Regions from separate parts of the Homo sapiens genome. Here all the other regions are linked to region 3. The links are contacts of gene promoters, found by promoter capture Hi-C in blood cells and fetal thymus (Javierre and others, 2016). All regions are on one chromosome and are shown on one strand. Each heading gives the region's core, a stretch centred on a gene start or on the middle of the fragment in contact. The rest is flanking DNA. Distances are from core to core; before and after follow the strand shown. Region 1 holds the start of ACBD3 (acyl-CoA binding domain containing 3). Region 2 overlaps ENAH (ENAH actin regulator). Region 3 holds the start of PYCR2 (pyrroline-5-carboxylate reductase 2).

Region 1 (4,085 bases), core at 870-3,369, 260 kb after region 3:
GTTTACAAGGTAACTAGAATCCAGAGCTTCCTGACTCTCCAAACAATGTTAAGTATACTACACGTTACAGTGTTTTAATCTTTTTCTTTGTTTTGAGACAGAATTTCACTTTGTCGCCCAGGATGGAGTGCAGTGGCATGATCTCGGCTCACTGCAACCTCTGCCTCCCATATTGAAGCGATTCTTTTTTTTTTTTTAGACGGAGTTTTGCTCGTCGCCCAGGCTGGAGTACAATGGTGCCATCTTGGCTCACTGCAACCTCCGCCTCCCGGGTTCAAGTGATTCTCCTGCCTCAGCCTCCCTCAGTCCTGCAACAGAGCAGGACTCCAGCTCAAAAAAAAAAAAAAAAAGGAATTAGTTCATTTCTACTCTTACTCTCTGCTACAATATACTTTACTGAAAAATAAGTTCCAAGAATAAAAATTTAAGATGGAATGTAGCTATATGAATTGTACAGAAACCACCTGATTTTTATCAAGTGGTAATATATCATCACTACAGCAAACTCTAAATTCAAGCCGGTGATCTAAAAGTCAAATGATCCAAAACCCATTAGCCATTACCAATTCCCCAAGCTAGTTAGTACACAGAGGGCTCAACTCATTGTGCAATGACCACGAATATGTCATTGAATGTGAAATGATCAAATGTTCTGGAAAATTTATAAAACTTTCACTAGTTTGCACAATTAAAGTTATTTTGAGAGAAAACAACTTCCGTGTGTATCATTACATTGAACTACTCAACTTTGGCTAGTAAAATATGTACTCCAAAAGGTACTCCCTCTGGGGAAAGTGTCATAAATATGCTGCTCTGGAATGTACGTGGAACCTAGCAACCACTTTTAAAGTTGCATTTGCTGATGTCCCTCCCTGTCCATTCGCCCTACAAGACTAAGTATCTTTAAGAATCAAACTAACGGGCTTTCATCAGTTTTTCCCACTGACAAAAATCATGTGATTGGTCTCTCCACCATTCGACTAAGTGAATCACCCAATTAAAAAAAAAAAAAACCGCACACTACAATCTTGCTCTAAGACAAGAGACATTTAACAATTAATTATGCGAAAAGCACAGAAGGTACTGTTAGGCCTTACTCTGAGAATTCACTCTTGCACATTGCTTACAATGTAAAATTTTAACCACCTAGAAGTTACTAGAACATAGTGGACATCTCTCCTCAAGAGTTTGACAAGCCGGAGAGGATGATGAGCTTAACACTTTACTTCCTCCTCTCTGCCACATCAATCTGCCGGGGGATCAAGTCCTGTTCCAGTTTATGGTTCCCAAGAATGGCTGGAAAAGCTATGTATGGAACCTCTTGACAGATTTCTTCCACTAAGGGTAAAAATCGGCGGGTTCTGATGTGACAAGCCATGGGAAATAGGAAAAGAAAAGCGTCAGTTAAAAAAATAATAATAATAAAAGGCAATCCCAGAATGGGATCCTTTGGAAGAAAGTGGGCTCATTCTTCCACCAGGGCTCCTGGAAATCCCAGAAGCTAAATCAGGTAAAATGTCCCGGTAACCTCTGGGAGGCGGGACATGACTGCTAAACCAAGGTTGCAGGCCCGTCAGGGGTGTGACCTAGTGGCCAAGCGGGTAGTGACAAACTTCGGGTACCCCCAAGGAGGGAACCCCGCTTGAGTCACCACAGCCCAGTATGAGTGGGTGAGGGCAAGTCTGGTCCAGTCACCCTGGGGACCACAGCCCACGCCGGGCTCCCGGGGCCGGGCAGAAGCGGCGGGGGTGGGGCTGGCCCGGCTCACCTTTGAAGAAGCGCAGTGCCAGGCCGTACAACTCCTCCAGGCCGAAACCCCAGCGCTGCTCCAGCCGCCGCGCCTCCTCCGCCGCGCCCCCAGCCGCCGCCTCCCCGGGCTCGGGCTGCTCCCCTGAGGCGCCCGGGCCGCGACCGGATCCAGGTGGCGAGGGCGGTGGCAGCGGTGGCGGCAGCAGCGGGGCGCCCTCCGCCCCAGGCCGCTCCTCCGGGTCCGGGCTGAGCGTGAGGCCGTCGACGGACACCTCGAGTCGCTCTGCGTTCAGCACCGCCGCCATCTCCGGCTGCTGCACCTCCTCAGCGGGGACAGACGGCAGCCACGTATCGACTTCCTGCTGACCTCTGACCTCCGCTTACCGACACCGGAACTTCCGCTGCTGAGGAGGCTGGAGGGCTCCGGGAGAGGGGCTGAGGCCTGGCGCCCCACCCCCTCCGGAATCGTCAGTTGCCCTGGCTCAGCGACCACCCTTCAGGCTCCCCAACTCCCGTTGGTCCCGAACTCCCCTCCCCCGCACCCCATCCTTTCGGATCCCAGTTGCTCCAGGTGGGCGGGTGCTACCACCCCCACCGCTCGGTTCGGTGCTGCGGCTGTCAGTGCCCAGCAGGGGCGGGGTCAGTGGAGCCCCGCGCGGGGGTCGGAGTAGGGAGGATTGACGAGGTCGGCCAGCACCCAACCCTCCAGGTCAGAGGCCCTTCACATTTGCAGGGGCCTGCGTGGTTGGCAGAGCTCTTTTGCCCACCACCATCTCGTTTGGCCTTCACAGCAACTCTAAGGAAATGCAGGGCAAATTCCCAATTTTTTTAAAAGGGGAAACTGAGACTGCAGAGAAATTCAGTGACTTTGAGGTTGCAGACGGGGCTGATCCTGGTTTTGCAGGAAGCGCAGCTCATACAATTTGTGGGGACCCTCATTAGGAAAGAGTACAAAAAGTTACGCGCAGAAGGGTAGGAAAGTGAATGTATATTTAGAAAGAGAAAGAAAAAACAAATGATATTTTAAAAGTTAATAAAACCCACAAACATCACACACATAACCGTAATATTTTCATTGACTGCCTGATATTCTTCTACAGGGCGTCTGAGAGCCCAGAAACCTATTTTTTTCTAAAAGATTGAAGTCGCCCCCGACATTATGTATATTCACCTGTGTTTCCAGACTTTGGGAGCACCATTTATGATCATTTTTCCCACCTTTGTTTTGGCTGCGTACTTCTGATTGCCTTTTCCTATAACAATTATTTTGTAACTTTTTTTTTTTTTTTTTTTTTTTGTTTTTTGCAGACAGTCCTGCTGTGCCACCCAGGCTGGAGTGTAGTGGTGCAATTCGGTTCACTGCAACCTCTGCCTCCCGGGTTCAAGCAACTCTCCTGCCTCAGCCTCCCAAGTAGTTGGGATTACAGGTGCTCACCACCACGCCCGGCTAATTTTTGTAAACTTAGTAGAGTCAGAGTTTCCCCATGTTGGCCAGGCTGGTCTCAAACTCCTGACCTCATGTGATCTGCCCGCCTCAGCCTCCCCAAAGTGCTGGGATTACAGGTGAGAGCCACCGCGCCCGGCGTATTTTGTAATTCTCTATAAAGAAAAGAGAAAGATCAGTCTTTTCTCCAGCATGGCTGATTAAATTTGTTTCTTAATAATTGTTTATAAATTTATTTCAGCATCACAACTCATTACTGATATTGTTAACGTACTTTTTTAGGGTTATTGTTCAGTTTGGGAAACCTCTCTCAAGTTTCATGGATGTGCTATGAGATTTTTATGGCCGTTTGGCTGCTTCAGTGACAATTTTGTGTGTGGTTTTTACTGAAGCCCTAGAGAGTTTTTTTCTTTTTTTTGAGACGGAGTCTCTCTCTGTCGCCCACGCTGGAGTGCAGTGGCGCGATCTTGGCTCACTGCAAGCTCCGCCTCCAGGGTTCACGCCATTCTCCTGCCTCAGCCTCCTGAGTAGCTGGGACTATAGGTGCCCACCACCATGCCCGGCTAATTTTTTTGTATTTTTAGTAGAGACGAGGTTTCACCGTGTTAGCCAGGATGGTCTCAATCTCCTGACCTTGTGATATGCCCGCCTCGGCCTCCCAAAGTGCTGGGATTACAGGCGTGAGCCACCGCGCCTGGCCGAGGGTTTTTTTCAGGACAAGATTTGTATGCTGCATTCAGACAGGATCTCATTCATTACGGTGGATAAGACATATAACTTCACATACAGACAGACTCACTGTAGTACAACTATAAGTTTTTGTCCCATAAACATAGGGTTTCTAATCTATTCCCTTTTGCATGCTTCACATAAAAACATGAAGTATGGTGCA
Region 2 (4,007 bases), core at 342-2,841, 300 kb before region 3:
CTTTCAATCATCTAGTGGCCAATTTGGAACCTTTTTCTCCTCACCTCTCCAAGATAGTACAGCACAGAAAAAAAGGGGAAGATAATCACCTCTCTGTTCCTACTATCAACTTCTGCTTCATATTCACTAATACGTAGTTCACTGATCCTAGACAGGTGCTCAGAACTGTCTCCACCCATTCCACAAATCTATCAAGTGCCTACCTACCAGTCTTTCTTGTTTTCCTCTGAAATATAGATGAATTCTCAGTGATCACTCTACAAAAACTCAACTTAGAAAGTTTCATGTTCTACTTAAAACACTTAAATGAGAACACTATCTCTGTGCTTTAGGTTTTCTGTTTTTAACCACCTTTATACCAGCAACTACCAGGAATCACCTTTAAAAAAATTCCAAAGGATTCTACTCTATACTAAATTACATTGCGTTACATGCAGGTAAAGGAAAGACATGAGCCAGAGTTCAGAGGAGTTTGATGGCACCAGTGGAGAGAGAGAAGGCCTACTTTCTGGCCCACAATAGGAGGGCAAAAGGTTAAAGAAGTCCGAGGACCCCTACAATGGCTTACCTTCTATCCCCAAGATGCCAAGCCTACATCAATTCATCTCCCAAATCAGCATTACTCAAATGTTTAAGGCCTGTGATAAATAAATACACTGCATATACAACCCAGTACACACACACACACACACAAATGCACAGACACTAAATGTTTCATGAAACACTTGCCATTACCATGTGCAATGTTTCCTGAATATTTTCTATTGTCTTTCATTTGTGATAAATCCTGTTAAAAACCTACAGTTAGAAAAACTAACCTACAGTTAGCAAAACACCACCCTTGCCAATCACGGTGGGTCACGCCTGTAATCCCAGCACTTTGGGAGGCCAAGGCGGGCAGATCACTTGAGGTCAGGAGTTTGAGACCAGCCTGGCCAACATGGTAAAACCCTGTTTCTACTAAAAAATACTAAAATTAGCTGGGCATGGTGGCAAGCACCTGTAGTCCCAGCTACTCGGGAGGCTGAGGCAGGAGAATCACTTGAACCTGAGAGGCAGAGGTTGCAGTGAGCTGAGATCCTGCCACTGCACTCCTGCCTGGGCAACAGAGTAAGACCCCATCTCAAAAACAGAAAAGAGAAACACCACCCTAAAATACTCCCACCTCCCTAGTCTTATTTTGGGGATCAGGGGAAGGAGGATGACTATAGAGAGAAAACCCATCAGAAACTTGGGATTAAGGAGAATCCCTGGGGCAGAAGGGCCTTCAGTCTCAGACATCCCAATTTAAAACCCTGAATGGTCTCAGAGAAATGCTTTTAAAACACAGCTATCAGGTCAATTCTGCAGTCTCAGTGTCTTCCCAAATAAATTATAGACATCAAATGTCTGGTGATACCAAAAACTACTTGTACCCTAAAAGTATTGAAATAAAAAGTACATAAATGATAATAAATTTTAAAAATTCACTAAGCTAAAAAAAAATGTCTGGTGATAATTAAATGTACCGGATTGAACCATGTGAAACTGCCAACATCTGGTGATCTGTGACTTCCAAAAACAGTAATTTCTTACAGTTTAGCCTAATAGTGTAACACATACTTCAAGGATACGATGCATTAAATGGCCTTGTGTGTACTACTTGAGAACGTACTAGCCCTCATTATAACACAGTTCCCACAGAAAGATATGTGCTAAGCTCCTACCAAAAATCTGATTTGAAAGCTGGAACTATCTGCAATTAAGATGTAATGTGATCTAGTATCTCTGAATGCTTTTCAATGTGACCACCAGCGGTTTCAACACTTCGTCACTAGAAAAGTACCAGGCCTCGCGCGGTGGTTCACACCTGTAATCCCAGCACTTTGGGAGGCCGCGGCAGGTAGATCACAAGGTCAGGAGATTGAGACCAGCCTGGCCAACATGGTGAAACCCCGTATCTACCAAAAATACAAAAATTAGCTGGGCGTGGTGCCACATGCCTGTAGTCCCAGCTACTTGGGAAGCTGAGGCAGAAAAGAAAAATCGCTTGTACCCAGGGGGCGGAGGTTGCAGTGAGCCAAGATCGGCCACTGCACTCCAGCCTGGGTAATAAGAGCAAAACTGTCTCAAAAATGTCCCAGGCCTCTAATACAAACCCACTACTTTTCCATGCAACTTGGGATACTTGATTCATTCTTGTTTTCACACAATTACCAAATCTGGAGCCTCAATCTCAGCCTGCTACTTTCTATCAGATCTATCTTATTTTCTGAAGGTATGTTCACTTCAATCAGATCATAAGCTCCTTAAATGTGGAGATAGGGCCGGGTGCAGTGGCTCACACCTGTAATCCCAGCACTTTGGGAGGCCAAGGTGGGCGGATCACCCAAGGTCAGGAGTTCAAGACCAGCCTAGCCAACATGGTGAAACCCCGTATCTACTAAAAATACAAAAATTAGCTGGGCATGGTGGCGGGCGCCTGTATTCCCAGCTACTCAGGAGGCTGAGGCAAGAGAATCGTTTGAACCTGGGAGGCAGAGACTGCAGTCAGCCGCCATCTCACCACTGCACTCCAGCCTGGGTAACAGAGCTAGACTCCATCAAAAAAAAAGAAAAAAAAGTGTGGAGATAGTCCTTTGTAGTCTTTGAAAGCCTCCTTCCTTATGGTGATATACTATCATTTGATAAAATGTGTCCCGAATTAAAACAAATCTCCTTGGGAAAATCTTCACCCATGTCCACTTGCCTAATCATCTTTTTAAGAGTGACAATGCTATCATCCTATTACCAAATTCCAGAACCTTGGTGTGACCTTTCACACCAACCATTCTCATTATACTTATCACCCTTCTGACTCAGTATGGCCATGGGAATTACTTCTTTAAATCTATCTCTCTTTTTTTTTTTTTTGAGACGCAGTCTCGCTCTGTCGCCCAGGCTGGAGTGCAGTGGCGGGATCTCGGCTCACTGCAAGCTCCGCCTCCCGGGTTCACGCCATTCTCCTGCCTCAGCCTCCCAAGTAGCTGGGACTACAGGCGCCCGCCACTACGCCCGGCTAATTTTTTGTATTTTTAGTAGAGACGGGGTTTCACCGTTTTAGCCGGGATGGTCTCGATCTCCTGACCTCGTGATCCGCCCGCCTCGGCCTCCCAAAGTGCTGGGATTACAGGCGTGAGCCACCGCGCCCGGCCTAAATCTATCTCTTAATCAACCACTAAGATTATTTTACATATACACCATAATGGCCCAGTCACTCAATCTCCCAAATTCTTCATTGGCTTTTGTTAACCGCACACATCAAATACAAACATTTCCCACCTGCTACATGGACCTCTAACTGAATAAATCCCAAGCAGTCACTCCTAAATTTACCATTTACCTCAGCACACAGCTTCAGTTTCACCTAATCAGAAATTAGTTACTCTCTGTGACATACCTATCCTCCTTCTCAAAGCTCTACTCAGTCCTTGGAGACAGAAGTATTTGCCTTGGAAGAGGGGAGACCACTGAGAACTCCCTGTGCTCTCTTTGATTCTCTCATAGCCTCCCTCTTCGTATCTCTCACTTCAAAAGAAGCTGAAAATGTTTCTACTTCTAACATGAAACAATCTATGTACTATCATCTTAGATGTGTAAAGAACATGTTTTTAACATGCCATTGCTCAACTCTTTAAAAAGTCATACTATTATTAAGACCATGTAACAACATGGAAAAGTGTCCATGGTTATGTTCATTGAAAAAGAACACTGAAGGTTATTATACATATTGAGTGTTAGGCTTATGGGGTGATGTCCCTTCAAATTTGTGTTCATATGTTTATATATTAGGAGTGATGGATATGTTTGCTATCTTGATTGTACACCTTAAATATGTGACATTTATTGTATGTCCTCAATAAAGGTGTTGGCCAGGCACTGTGACTCAAGCTTATAATCCAGCACTTTGGGAGGCTGAGGCAGGAGGATCCTTTGAGCGCAGGAGTTAGAGACCAGACTGGGCAATATGGCAAGACCCCATCTCTATT
Region 3 (4,150 bases), core at 1,177-3,676:
CCTAGAAGGCTGAGCGAGCAAATGAGGGCCTCACATAGGCAGGCCCGCTGCCACTGAGCCCCGTGACGGCATCGATGAGGTCCTCTTCCACCTCAGTGCAGAAGCCCACGCTGCTCATGAGCTGCTCCAGGAGCTGCCCATCCTCCACCAGGGCATGGGTGCCCGTGGCGTACACTGTAGCGCCTTCCTGCACTACCACAGGTGTGTTGGTCATGCAGCGAATCACTTTGGGGGCTGGCTGGAATGCCATCAGCTTCTAGGGTGAGGGAGAGAGCCGAATGAGTGGCCAGGGCACGGCTCCCACCAGCACCCACCCATTAGCTGCCATTCGTGGGTCAACCCTCCCCTCACACAAGGGGCATCAGGGCTGAGATGGGCACCTTCTCCACAGAGCTGATGGTGACACCAGCCGCACAGGAGACCACGATGTGTCTGGCTTGCACGTCGGCCCCAATCTCATCCAGGATGAAGGGGATGATATGTGGCTTCACAGCCAGAAACAGGACGTCGCTGTGCTTCACCGTCTCCTTGTTGCTGCGTGTCAGGTTCACACCCATCTTCTGCAAGAGGAGACTCCCAGCTCACAGTGCTGGAGCAGCCTGGCTATGCCAAGGCCTCCCAGGGAGCAGCTGAACCCCTGCCAAACCGATTCTGCCAGATGCAGCCTGGAATTCTTAGCTTTATGCCCTCAGGGTTCTACCCCTACCCCAAATAATACAGTTTCCCATTGTTGCTACTGGACAAGTAAGCACAGGCTTGGAGCATGACAAGCTTCTCCATGGTAACCAGGAAGTGGCTGCCCTTCTTCCCTGCCAATCTTCTGGTATCTAAGGCACTCCTCTGCCAGGTAAGAAGGCCCTATGGTGAAAGTGGCAGGGCAAAGGGAAATGCTAATACCTGGTCGTTAAAAGCACAGCTGAGTCAGGCCCTATCCTAACCCTGGCCGCTTGTTCGTGGGGACCGCACAGTCTCCATGTGGTCCAGGGCTAGGCTGGAAGCCATCCATCCCTCTATGACTCCAAACTGAGAAGCAGGACCCTCCAGTGCTAGGGACATCAGCCCACCCTAGGCACAGACACTGCCTGTCACCTGCCTCATCAGCCATCCTCTCCCACAGAGCACAGGTTTTGGGTGAAGACTTGGAATATGTTTTTGGAGAACAGAACAACTAACTCACCAGATTCTTCCCAATATGCTCATTCACGACTCAGAATAACAGCAAAGTGGCCACTGTTGTAAATGAGGAAATAGCCTCAAAGTGGCTGAGTACTTTAAGGTCATACAACTCGTCTATTAAGAAAAATGGCTGAGCGCAGTGGCTCACCCCTGTAATCCCAGCACTTTGGGAGGCCAAGGCGGGCAGATCACTTGAGGCCAGGAGTTCGAGACCAGCCTGGCCAACAGTATTCTCTACCAAAAATACAAAAATTAGCTGCGCGTGGTGGATGCCTGTAATTCCAGCTACTCGGGAGGCTGAGGTGGGAGGCTGAGGTGGGAGGCGGAGGTTACAGTGAGCTGAGATCGCGCCACTGCACTCCAGCTTGGGCGACAGAGTAAGACCCTGTCTGAAAAAAAATTTAAAAAATGAGTATTTATTAGGTACCTACTATGTGCCAGGTGCTTTCATCACATAATCACCTCAGTTAATCCTCTACCACTCCAGTGTCTGGATCTGACCCCCAGTTATGTCTCCCTGGGTGTTCCCACCACATTGAGCTGCCCAAGAGAAGGTGGAAAGATTGTCACGTTCCTGGAGTAAAGGTCACCGCCGGCCAAAGACCAGCACTTGGGCGCAGGGGCCGGCCAGACTCACTTCATCTCAGGTCATCCTTTTCCTGGGCCTCCACCCGCTTCCCACTCCGCCCGGCTCCACCTACCCTGAGCGCGGACACCGTGGGCAGGTTCATTTCTGGGGAGCTGGCTATTATCTTGTGAGCCGACAGGATGCCTGCAGAAGACAGAGCTTTTCAACTAGGGGTCGCGGCCCAGCCCGTTACCACGCTTTCCCTGGCTCTAAAACCCAGAGCCGTCCTAACAGTGCCAGTCTCCCTCTCCCCCTCAACCCTCTACGAGGACAGAAGACGCACTTGCTGCTCAACCAGAGTCTCATCTACCCCACCGGACGCAAACTCCCCTTTCATTCGCTCATGCTGGTGGGACGGAGGCCCCCTCGGGCCTCGGGACCGCCCGCGAAGCCGCCTCCCGCCTCCACGCGCTTGCCTGCGGCCGTGAAGCCCCGCGCCAGAGCATAGGCCAGCTGGCCGGCCCCGATGAAGCCCACGCTCATGGTCCGCGGTTCACGCCTCCTGGGAGCCGCACGAACCCCCTCAGCGAGGGACCGGAAGTAACGCTAGGGGAAGGGCGGACAGCGCAGGGGCGAACGGGCGGCGTGCCGAGGACCGGCGAGCTAACAGCAGCTTCTGGGATGGTGCAACCCTATTCTCCCCCGGCGGATATCTCCCGGGCGGCTGATGGCGCCTTAGGCCACGTGGCCCCGCCCCGTCCGGGCGACCAATCAGTGGCCAGGATCTCGGGGCAGGCCAATCCGCGGCCCGAGCCAGGCCGCGTGCCCGCCTCCTCCGCTCGCGACTGGAGGGCGGAACTCCGGGCTGGAGTCCCGGAAGCCCCTGTGGCAGCTTGGCGTGAGCTCCAGGCGCCCGCCGGCCCAGGACGCCCGGCCGCCCCCACCCCCCCCCCCCACCCCAAGGCTGAGGTCGCCGTCCCTAAGCCACCTCGGGCTCAGGGCTGAGGCCTGGCCCAGGCCTGGCTAATATTATTTCTGGCGCTGGCCATCAGATGCCCCTCAAGGCCCACAGGAATTCTCCAGGTTGCCGATTTGCGGGGATGAACGAGGCCCTCCTGGCGTAGGTTCAGACCAGGTGGCGGCGAGGTTCAGACCAGGTGGCGGCGAGGCGGCACCAGGGTGGTCAGCCGCGGCTTATTCACTTGAACTTGAGTGTTTCTCGCGAATTTGTCCAAACTAGATACAAGAAGGACAAGTTCGAGTCTCCGACTCTTCCGCGATCCCGCACCCCCCAGCCCCTTGCTGTCACTTGCCTTTTTTTTTTTGAGACGGAGTTTCACTCTTGTTGCCCAGGATGGAGTGCAGTGGCACGATCTCGGCTCACTGCAATCTCCGCCTCCCGGGTTCAAGCGATTCTCCTGCCTCAGCCTCCCCAGTAGCTGGGATTACAGGCGCCCGCTACCACGACCGGATAATTTTTGTATTTTTAGTAGAGACGGGGTTTCACCATGTTGTTCAGGCTGGTCTTCAACTCCTGACATCAGGTTATCCGCCCGCCTCGGCCTCCCAAAGTGCTGGGATTATAAGCGTGAGCCACCGCGCCCGACCTGTCTCTTGCTTTTAAAAGCTCCACCAATGTGATGTTTCCTTTTCTATCAGTAGTAAATATAAGGGGCCGCAGGGAACAAATGACAGAAGTAGAGAGGAAGAAGGTGGCGTTCCTAGAGGACTCAGAAGAGCTGAGGACCCTTAGTTCCCATGGTCTCTCTGCTAGCTTTTCTAGTCCTTTCCGTGTAATGCACACCCCCACTCCCAGGCAAGGGGCTGCTTTCTGTGAACTTCCCTGAGCAAGTCCCCAGGCCCTCAGTTTGTGCACCCTTTAAAGTGAGGACCAAATATAATATTTACTATTAAGCAAAATAATGCTATGTTTTATTTATTTATTTATTTATTTATTTATTGAGACAGAGTTTCGCTCTTGTTGCCCAGGCTGGAGTGCAATGGCACGATCTCGGCTCACTGCAACCTCCACCTCCCGGGTTCAAGCGATTCTCCTGCTTCAGCCTCCTGAGTAGCTGGGATTACAGGCATGCGCCACCACGCCCGGCTAATTTTTTGTATTTTTAGTAGAGACAGGGTTTCTCCATGTTGGTCAGGCTGATCTTGAACTCCCGACCTGAGGTGATCTGCCTGTCTCAGCCTCCCAAAGTGCTGGGATTACAGGCGTGAGCCACAGCACCTGGCCTCTGTATTTTTTAAATTCGAAAAGTAATACAGACATATTGAAGAAAGTTTGGAGATAAAAGTAAAAATAAAATCATCCACATCATACTTCCCAAAGATAGTTTCTTACAAACATTTTTGGTGTATTTCCTTACACTATCATGTCCTATGCATATCTACTTT

The links. The method cuts DNA at HindIII sites, captures the fragments that hold promoters and counts their contacts. A CHiCAGO score of 5 or more calls a contact.
Region 1: the fragment with the promoter of ACBD3 here is called in contact with the fragment with the promoter of PYCR2 in region 3 in 1 of 17 cell types (neutrophils); the score reaches 5.8 in neutrophils.
Region 2: a contact is called between a fragment that was not itself captured here and the fragment with the promoter of PYCR2 in region 3, in 1 of 17 cell types (naive CD8 T cells). The highest score is 6.5, in naive CD8 T cells.

The regions. Positions count from the first base shown.
Region 1 is chr1:226,184,622-226,188,706 of GRCh38, forward strand. It overlaps ACBD3 (acyl-CoA binding domain containing 3), which reads right to left and starts at 2,120. Exons shown (of 8, transcript NM_022735.4): 1 at 1,769-2,120. The coding sequence starts at 2,054. It overlaps LOC101927247 (a long non-coding RNA gene), which reads left to right and starts at 3,275. Exons shown (of 2, transcript XR_001738504.2): 1 at 3,275-3,312. RefSeq lists silencers at 1,611-2,090, 1,727-2,021. The HindIII fragment of the contact is 12,408 bases long and covers 1-4,085 here.
Region 2 is chr1:225,618,419-225,622,425 of GRCh38, forward strand. All of the region lies in intron 1 of ENAH (ENAH actin regulator), which reads right to left. Among named protein-coding and RNA genes, the nearest start is that of ENAH, 33 kb to the right of the region's middle. The HindIII fragment of the contact is 4,631 bases long and covers 1-3,907 here.
Region 3 is chr1:225,921,824-225,925,973 of GRCh38, forward strand. PYCR2 (pyrroline-5-carboxylate reductase 2) reads right to left here and starts at 2,427. Exons shown (of 7, transcript NM_013328.4): 1 at 2,221-2,427; 2 at 1,878-1,948; 3 at 381-560; 4 at 35-256. The coding sequence starts at 2,287. It overlaps MIR6741 (microRNA 6741), which reads right to left and starts at 319; the gene lies at 257-319. RefSeq lists silencers at 2,024-2,153, 2,464-2,553, 2,694-2,773 and an enhancer at 2,324-2,973. The HindIII fragment of the contact is 26,114 bases long and covers 770-4,150 here.